Regions from separate parts of the Homo sapiens genome. Here region 2 is linked to region 1. Evidence: promoter capture Hi-C in 16 types of primary human blood cells and fetal thymus (Javierre and others, 2016). All regions are on one chromosome and are shown on one strand. Each heading gives the region's core, a stretch centred on a gene start or on the middle of the fragment in contact. The rest is flanking DNA. Distances are from core to core; before and after follow the strand shown.

What was found. Contacts are between HindIII fragments. The CHiCAGO score rates a contact against its expected background, and 5 or more counts as called.
Region 2: a contact is called between a fragment that was not itself captured here and the fragment with the promoter of HAS1 in region 1, in 1 of 17 cell types (monocytes). The highest score is 6.5, in monocytes.

Annotation. Positions count from the first base shown.
Region 1 is chr19:51,722,156-51,726,523 of GRCh38, forward strand. It overlaps HAS1 (hyaluronan synthase 1), which reads right to left and starts at 1,836. Exons shown (of 5, transcript NM_001297436.2): 1 at 1,770-1,836. The coding sequence starts at 1,778. The HindIII fragment of the contact is 33,518 bases long and covers 1-4,368 here.
Region 2 is chr19:51,511,053-51,515,420 of GRCh38, forward strand. No RefSeq gene overlaps it. Among named protein-coding and RNA genes, the nearest start is that of SIGLEC12, 11 kb to the left of the region's middle. The HindIII fragment of the contact is 2,005 bases long and covers 1,413-3,417 here.

The sequences.
Region 1 (4,368 bases), core at 586-3,085:
GTGTCAGCAGCCACATGTGTCTACCGAGTACTTGAAATGCAGCCAGTATCACCGAGGAACTGAGTTTTAAATTTTATTTAATTTTAATTCATTTAAATTTAAAAACTCTTACTTGATTCGGTTATTGGAAAGATTTTAAATATGTCTGGAACAAGTTGCATCTACGATGCCCCTTTTATAATTGTAAATCTTATAAAATCTAAACACAGATTAGGTATTTCCAGTGAAAAGGTAGCATCTAAGTGAGAAGTGCTATGAACACACTGGATTTTGAAGGCCAAGTCTGGGGAAAAGAAAGTAAAATAGCTCATTAACATTTATGTATTGATTACATATTGAAATGATCATATCTTATATGTAGCAGGGGTCGGCATGCTAAGACCTGCTGCAGCCTGCAGGCTAAGAATTTGTGTGTGTGTTTTTAGATGGTTTTTGAAAGCCAAAAGAAGAATAATAGTTTGTGGAGCATGAAAAATATGAAATTCAAATTTCAGTGTCCTTAAAGGAAGTTTTATTTGCATACAACCACATTCATTTGTTTATACATCATCTGTGGCTGATTCTACATTTACCACATCGAAGTTGAGTACTTTCAAAAGAGACCAGATGGCCCCCAAAAGCCTCAAATATTTAATATTGGGCCCTTTATTTAAAAAAATGTGCTGGCCCCTGACACACTGGGTTAAATAAAAATATATTATTAAAATTAATTTCACCTGTTTGTTTTTACTTTTTCAAATGTGGCCACAAGAAAATTTTAAATTAGATATTGTGGTTTTCGTTACATTTCTAGAGGACAAAACTGAGGTACAGCTTTTAAACTCTCAACATTAAACATTATTCTTTCTTCTCGAATCCCCCTTCTCTCTTCCTTTGCTTCAAACCTGGCCTTGCCTGAGTTCCTAGGGATGGCTCAATTCATGCTGGGGATCCAGAGAGTTGATTCCAGAAACACAGATGAACACACGTGTAGACACACTCCCCCACACGTGAACTCACACATGATGAGTGACACACAGAATGAAATTACTCGTGTTCTACAGGATGACCCGAGACACCCACTCAGGCCAAACACAGCGATCCCGTGACCCCCACCGACGGCCACACAGGTGAACCTGCAGACACACACCCCTCAGCAGGAAAAAGCAACACCAGCAAAGGATGTCCACGTGGCCACAAACACACAGAGCCCCAACTGAGAGTCTGGGGCAATGGGATGCACAGGGAAGATTTCAAGAGAAATAGTAGGTGACTGTCAAGCTGATACTGAACCAGATGAAATTGCTATTCTTCCAAGTTTAGAGTGGCTCAGTATCGGCGATTTCATTTGGTTCAACTTAATAGCTATTGAACGCATGAAACAGAAATCCATTCCCATGTGCCACAGGCAAATCCAACTCTCTTTCTCACTCAGTCTCTTTCATTCGCTCACTGTCGCACTCCCTCTTTCTCTCTGCCTCCCAGGGAACATAGACATACACAAGTTTGTAGCAAGATACGCAGATACAGAAATACGGACATGGCACGTCTCACCTACATGTACTTGGGATGGCCGCTCACACAGGGCAATGTATACACAGACCTGCACACTCAGCCTCACATGCTCACTGTCCCCTACACACATATGGTCACTGTCAGGCACATGGATACACACATGAAATCATGCACACACAGTTCCCCAACACACGTGGTCACACATATGGCAGTAGTTTTCCCCACATGGCTGTATACACACACACACACACACACACACACACACACACACACACCTGTCTCATCGCAGTGGGTCTGGCCGGGCTCTCTCTTCTCTCCGGCTTGCTCTCCCAGCCTCTCTGTGGCCAGAGAGCTGGAGGGGGGTCATTTGAAGACCAGCGCAGGCGGGGGCGGGAGCGAGCGCTGACGTCAGTCAGGCTAAGCTGGGCCAGGGGCTCTGAGGTCACGGCCCAGCCGGGCAGCTCCACCCGCTTCCCGCTATTACTCCCACCCCCCTCAGCCAGACGGGCCTCCCTTCCCAGGCCCCCATGTCTACCCGCGCCCCTCCTCTAGTCCTCTCTGCCATCACTCCCCCTCCTCTCCCTCCCTCCTCTATGTCTTCTTCTCTCTTCCTCCCCCCTCTCGTCCCTTGTCTCCCCTGATTTTTCTCTTCCACCTCACTTGCATTTTGGGGGTTCCCCTCATCCCCCCATCCCCTATCCCTGTATTTCCCTCCATCCCTTTCTTTCTCCCTAACCCACTATTTCTCCTCATCTCTTTGTTGGTACCCTCATCTCTCTCCCCATTACCACATTTCTCCAAGTTTCTGTCTTTCTCTCCATCCCTTTCTTCCTCTCCACTTCTCTTGCCTCCTCTCACCCTCATTTCTTTCTCTTCTTGCTTTAAAGCTCTCCCCACCTCCCCCTTCTCACCTTCCCCAGTCACCCCCGCCCTGCTTCTCCCCACAGCCGCCTCTCCTGTCCCCAGAATCCATCTCTGGGTTGGGCCCCCCAGGGACATGTCTCAGCAACTGGCAGATGGAACGAAACTCACACACGTGCGTGCTGTGGGTGTGCCTGTGTGTACGCTGGCCCGAGGCACGGCTGCCTGGAACCGGAGCTGTGAGTGAACATCTGTCCATTCAGCGCCTAACTGACGTGGGTCTGCGTGTGTGCACCAGGGTCTGGGGTGGAGAGCTGGGGCGCTGGGATTTGTATCCCCAGGGACTCAGGGATGAACACAGAGAGTTGTCGGTCAGCTGACCCTGGGGAGCCAGCCGGGGTCTGTCAGTGCTGTCACCCATCAGGGAAACTGAGTCAGAGGAAGGGTGAAAAGAGATGCGGGACCTGGGGTGCCCGAACCCCAGCCCCTCAGGACCAGATCTGTGATAAATGTCTGTTTACATGCCCTTCTTTCCATGAATTTTTTAAAAAAACTATCTGTATCTAATTCTGTTCTTCTCTCTGCTCCTCTTACTGTGAACTATTGATGTCTCACTTTCGGCCTTGGTAGCTGCCTCGGTAGCTGCCTCGTTCTTTTCTCCCTGCCTGTGACTCCAACGACCTTTGGTGTCTGGCACGGGCCAGCTCCAGGACAGGCTGAAAGACATGGAGCAGCAGAGAGAAATTCCCCCGTGCTTCTCTCTCCTCGTCTGTCCCTCCCCAAATCTCTGTCATTTTGTATCTGTCACCCCATCTCTGTTTCTCGGTCCCTCTATTTGGGTCTCTGCCTCTGTGTATTCCTGTCTGTTTCTCCTCCTCATCCCCCCTCACAGCCATTCTCTCTCTGCTTTTACCTGGGAGTGTCTGTCCCTTTGCATTTCTGAAGTCTCCCTGACTTTCTTCTTGTGTGGCTCTCTTTCTTTCTGAGTGCCTCTCCCTGACTTTCTCACTGTGTGTCCATGTGTGTGTGTCTCTTTCTCTCTGTCTCTTTTTCCCTCTATCTCCCTCCCTCTCTAGCTCTGTCTCTATCCTCCTTCCGTCTCTCTGCATCCCCATCTCTCTCTTTTTTTTTTTTTTTTTTTGAGACGGAGTCTCACTCTCTCACCTAGGCTGGAGTGCAGTGGCGTGAGCTCGGCTCACTGCAACCTCCGCCTCCCGGGTTCAAGCGATTCTCCTGCCTTAGCCTCCCGAGTAGCTGGAACTACAAGCGCCCACCACCACACCTGGCTAATTTTTTGTATTTTTAGTAGAGATGGGGTTTCACTATGTAGGCCAGGCTGGTCTCCAACTCCTGACCTCAAGTGATCCATCTGCCTTGGCCTTCCAAAGTGTTGGGATTACAGGCGTGAGCCACCGCACCTATCTCTTTGTAAGGCTCTATCTCTGTATGTGTTTCTCTGTCTCTGTCTCTCTCATTCAGTTTCTCTCCATTTCTCTGTTTCTACATCTTCGTCTCTCCCTGCAGTTCCATCTCTTCCAGCCTGTCCCGGAGCTCTCCCCTGCCAGACACCAAGTCCTCACACCAAGTCCTCACACCCTGGGGTTTTCCCCGAGGAGGCTGCGCCAGGCCAAGCCTCTGCCTGGGCCTGTCAGGGAGAAGGTGCATTCCCAAGGAGCTCGAACGCCCTTCCCACCCACCAGGGCGGGCCGGGCTGTGTCTGACGCTGTTGCCGGGAGCCGGGCTGCCTGGTGTCTGGCTGTGTCAGGATGATGGGTCCTCAGATGATCTGAGGCCAGCCCAGAGCAGAAGGGGAGGGTGAGTCCTCCGCCCAGTGGGAGGGGGCAGCGCAGGCTCCTCCCCAGAAGTGGGGCATTTGGCTGCCCAGCCCCCACCCCGCCCTGCTCGGGTGGAGCAGCTGTATAAAACCAGATGTTTCTAAAACCAGAGTGCGGTTGAGGAAGGATAACCAGGGCTTTAATCCTCAACAGTTCCCTCCTCTAAGACCCAGGAGTC
Region 2 (4,368 bases), core at 1,165-3,664, 210 kb before region 1:
AAACTTCATGCCTCCTTCTACCTTCCTAACCATCTTCCTTATCTTTCTAAGGGTTCCTCCTCTGTTCCTGACACCTAACTGTTGAAATCCATCCTATTCCAACATGTCCTATTTGAAATGCGAAATATGAAAAGGTTCCTATTTCATATACTGTTTTAAAAACACAAGCTACCAATGTCAATTCTTTGATTTTCAGATCATCATATTCTCATATCCTATGATGATAGTGAAGGAGGCTGAGGGGAGGGTGTGTGGGTCCTCCCTGTACATTTCTTTGCAACTTCCTATGAATCTGTAGTTGTTTCCAAATCAAAAATAAAACAAAAAAACAAAAAACGACCATGAAGGCACATGAGAATGACAACCAAGAGACTCGCTGATGACTGGTAAAGTTGGATGCCAAACCCTGACCATTTCCTGTCTCTGTGGCATCTACTCCGGGAAATGAAGTGGGCATCTCCAGCCTCATATGTTCCAGGCAGCACTCAGTGTTTCTCTCCTCAAACTTCCTGCAGGGGGCGTTCCCTCTGGCCCTTTGGGATGTCTGAGCATCAGTATCAAGTGGTATCTGTTTGCATCTGCCTGCATCCCAGTGTCATCCTGATTTCCAATTCCCATATACAATCTATCCACACGGCCTGTCAGTTAAACTTTTTTTTTTTTATTAGATGGAGTTTTGCTCTTGTCGCCCAGGCTGGAGTGTAGTGGTGTGATTTCAGCTCATTGCAACCTCTGCCTCCCGGGTTCAAGCGATTCTCATGCCTCAGTCTACCTAGTAGCTGGGATTACAGGCATGTGCTGGCACGCCTGGCTAATTTTGTATTTTTAGTAGAGACAGGGTTTCACCATGTTGGTCAGGCTGGTCTCCAACTCCTGACCTTGTGATCCACCCGCCTCAGCCTCCCAAAGCGCTGGGATTACAGGCAGGAGCCACCGTGCCTGGCCTTGTATTTTTTATTTCTTAGTTAATTTCACTGGCTAGGACCTATACTACAATGTCGAATAGAAATAATAGGGCAGATATTCCTTCCTTTCTCCCAATCTTAGGGGAAAAAGTGTTCAATATTTCTTTATTACGTATGATGCTAATTGCAGGTTTTTAGATGCTCTTAATCAAATCGAAGTTTTTCTCTTCTAGTCCTAATTTGTTGAGATTGTTTTAAATTATAAATGTGTTTTAAATTCTGCCCAGCGTTATTTCTGGAGTAATCAAGAGGCACATTTGATGTTTCTCTTTTATTCTGGTAGCGTGGTGAATTACATTTATTTTTGGATGTGAAACCCCACTTGGTCATCATGTATTACGTCAATTTTATTTGTTGGATTGGATTTACTTATATTTAAATGAAGACTTTTCTATGTTCATGAGGTGCAGTGATCTGCAGTTTTCTTTTCTTGTAACGTCCTCATGAAGCTTTGGTATCAGGTTTGAATTTTGCCTCATGAAATGAGTGTTTTCTCCTTCTCTATTTACTGAGGGAGTCTGGGAAAGTTTGATATTATTTCTCCTTTAAATGTTTCGTAGAATTCCACATACAGTGCCATCATGATTAATTAATTACCTATGATTGAGTGGCTATTAAGCAAATGCCTTGAAGGATCGAATGGCGATGCTATTCACTGCTGTGTGAGCATTAATGACCACAAAGACTGTGTGGTAAACTCTCTGCTCCTAACTCTGCTGGAAAACCTGCAAAGGGCAAGTGCCAAGCTCAGGTCTTACCTTGTAGGTCAAGTTATGGTTGTAAACTACAGAAATGCCTTATGACTTCAAACAATTTCATGTCATTTGACTATGGGGACAATCTTGCAAAAAAAAAAAAATCAGACCCCAAATTTAATTGTATTTATTGAAGAATTACGACATAATTTGAATTTAAAGATTTGTCTGCGCTTCTTATAGGAAATTTAGGGCAGTTATTGGAAAGGACTGAGGGGCTTGGGCTTGGAAAGGGGTCTTGCATGAAGATCAAGTACCCAAGAACATGTGGATGACCCCTATGCATGGTCTTTGGATAAAGTCGAAAATCTTCAACCCCCTTGCCCCAAGACTTTTTGAAACTCTCTTGATACCAGAATATAGCCTGATTTCCTTGGTCTGGAGAGATTAGTCTTTCCTTACTGGAAGACTCTAATAATTCTGCTTGGAGAGATTGCCCAAGCACAGGAAGGTGCTGAGTCTCTTCAAAACTCATCCCAATCACTATTCATTCCAGACCAAGAATAAAATGCAAGTCTCTTCCATGGGGTAAATGCAATGCCCGACCCTTGAGAAGATCTTACATTCTAAAGGAATTATTGGATTCTCTGATTTATATCAGCAGACACCTGAGAAATATATGTTAAAGTGGACACTAGGAATCTTAGACCAACAAAGATAAAATATTACACTGGCTTAGCCAAATATATTGATACGGGTGTACTAACAAAAGATTACAGATACAATGTTTTGGCTCAAGAAGCTCTCAGGTGGATGAAGGAATTTGCTTTATGTTTGATTGAAACAATATTATCACTATATTCCAATGAAAATGGACTCAACAATGACCCAAATTTAACGAGGATGATGTCAGAACTTTCTTGGCATAATGGAGAAAAAATAACCCAAAGGTTTAGAGAGTTAAAAATGTTGGAAAATAAAAAATGACAAAAGTTCAACCTGTACCCTCATCTCCTCTGCTCTTACCCCTCAAGTAGTATACTGGTAAAGACAGCACAAGTGTCCATGAAAAGCTCTGTGAAGACTAACCTGGTTCAGCCTATTTTTTTTCACCTTATATATTCTGAAGCCATTCTTTGCCTATTTTTGCCTTACATATTCTGAAGCTATTTTATCATGTGCAGGTAAATTTCTAATGTATCTTCCTAGTATATTGAATATTTAATCCTTAAAAAATTGGCCCTTTTATCTCCATTAACACTTTGTTTGGTAAAAGATATATTTTCTGATATTGACATACTTATGATGGTCAGTTTAATGTGCCAATGTTTCTAGGTTATAGTCCCCAGAACATTCAATGAAACGTTAATCTAGGTGTTGCTGTGAAGGTGCTTTGTACACAGGATTAAGATTTATGATCAGTTTATTGGGGATGACAGAAAGAAATACTGCAACGGATATAATCACACTGCTTTCAATCAGGATGATGGAATTGTCAAAGGCAATGTGTCATTACTTAATCCCTAGAGATAAGTTGAGCACATTAGCTTTAAAGAGGATCAGAGATAAAATGGGAGGTCATCCTACCCCTACCAAAGAAGCTCAATTCTTGATAGTCACCTTTGGATTTTGGAGGAAATGTACAACTATGATTGGATGCTCTAACCCACTTACTACGTAAATCTTAAGACTTCCAGTTTGGAGTTGTTCTCAGTTCAAGGAAAGGCTCTGCAGCAGGTCCAGGCTGTAGTATAAGAAGCTTTACAACTTGAGGTTTATAACTCAAGATTAAATTATACTTGAATTATCTGGAATAATTAAGAATGTCGGTGTGCCCCAGAGTGAAGACCCCTAGGACTTTTGTTGCAAAGCCATGCTCTGTTTTTGAGAACATGATGGATCTCTTGAGAAAGAGCTTCTGACTTATTACCAGGCCTTGGTAGAGACTGATACCCTTACTATGGGATATGAAGCGAATATATAATACAAACTGCCCATCATGAAGTAGGTGCTCTGTGACCCATCAAGCTAAAAGGTTGGGCATGTGAAGCAATAATCCATTATGAAGTGAATTTGGATATGATATAACTGACTTCAAGATGGGCTTCAAGAAGTCCAGAAATCACAACCAAGTGACATGAGCAGGTGACCCAGATTCCTACAACTCCTCCTGGGATATTGCCTTATTTTTTCATGAAATCACATGTGTGACCTCATGGGCAGTTCTTTATGGCCATTGCTTGAGGAGGAAAACATTTCATCTTGGTTTTCAAGTGGTTCTGCTCAATCAACTGGCACAGCAAGGAGTGGACTTTTGCATCATGACAAACTCAACCACAGTGAACCTGAGAGCGGGACTGAAGGAACTCCCCCTAGTGGCAGAATTTCATAAATACATTTGGCTTTTCATTTTGAGACTGAGAGGTCAGAAGGACAGATACAAACTGAACCATGCCTACAGCGTTAGGTAACACATTTTTTCCCAGAAATTTGTCCATTTTCTATAAGTATTCAAAACTTTTCATACAGCTTACTACTTTCTGCTTATTTTGCATTAGATTAAGTAATGTTTTCTCCCTTATATTCCTGCATACTAGTTATTTTTGCCTTCTATATTTCTGGACTAATTGCAACTGAGGTTTGCCCATTTTATTATTTGTATCAAAAACTAGCTGTTCGTGATGTTGTTCCTTTCTACTGAATATGTT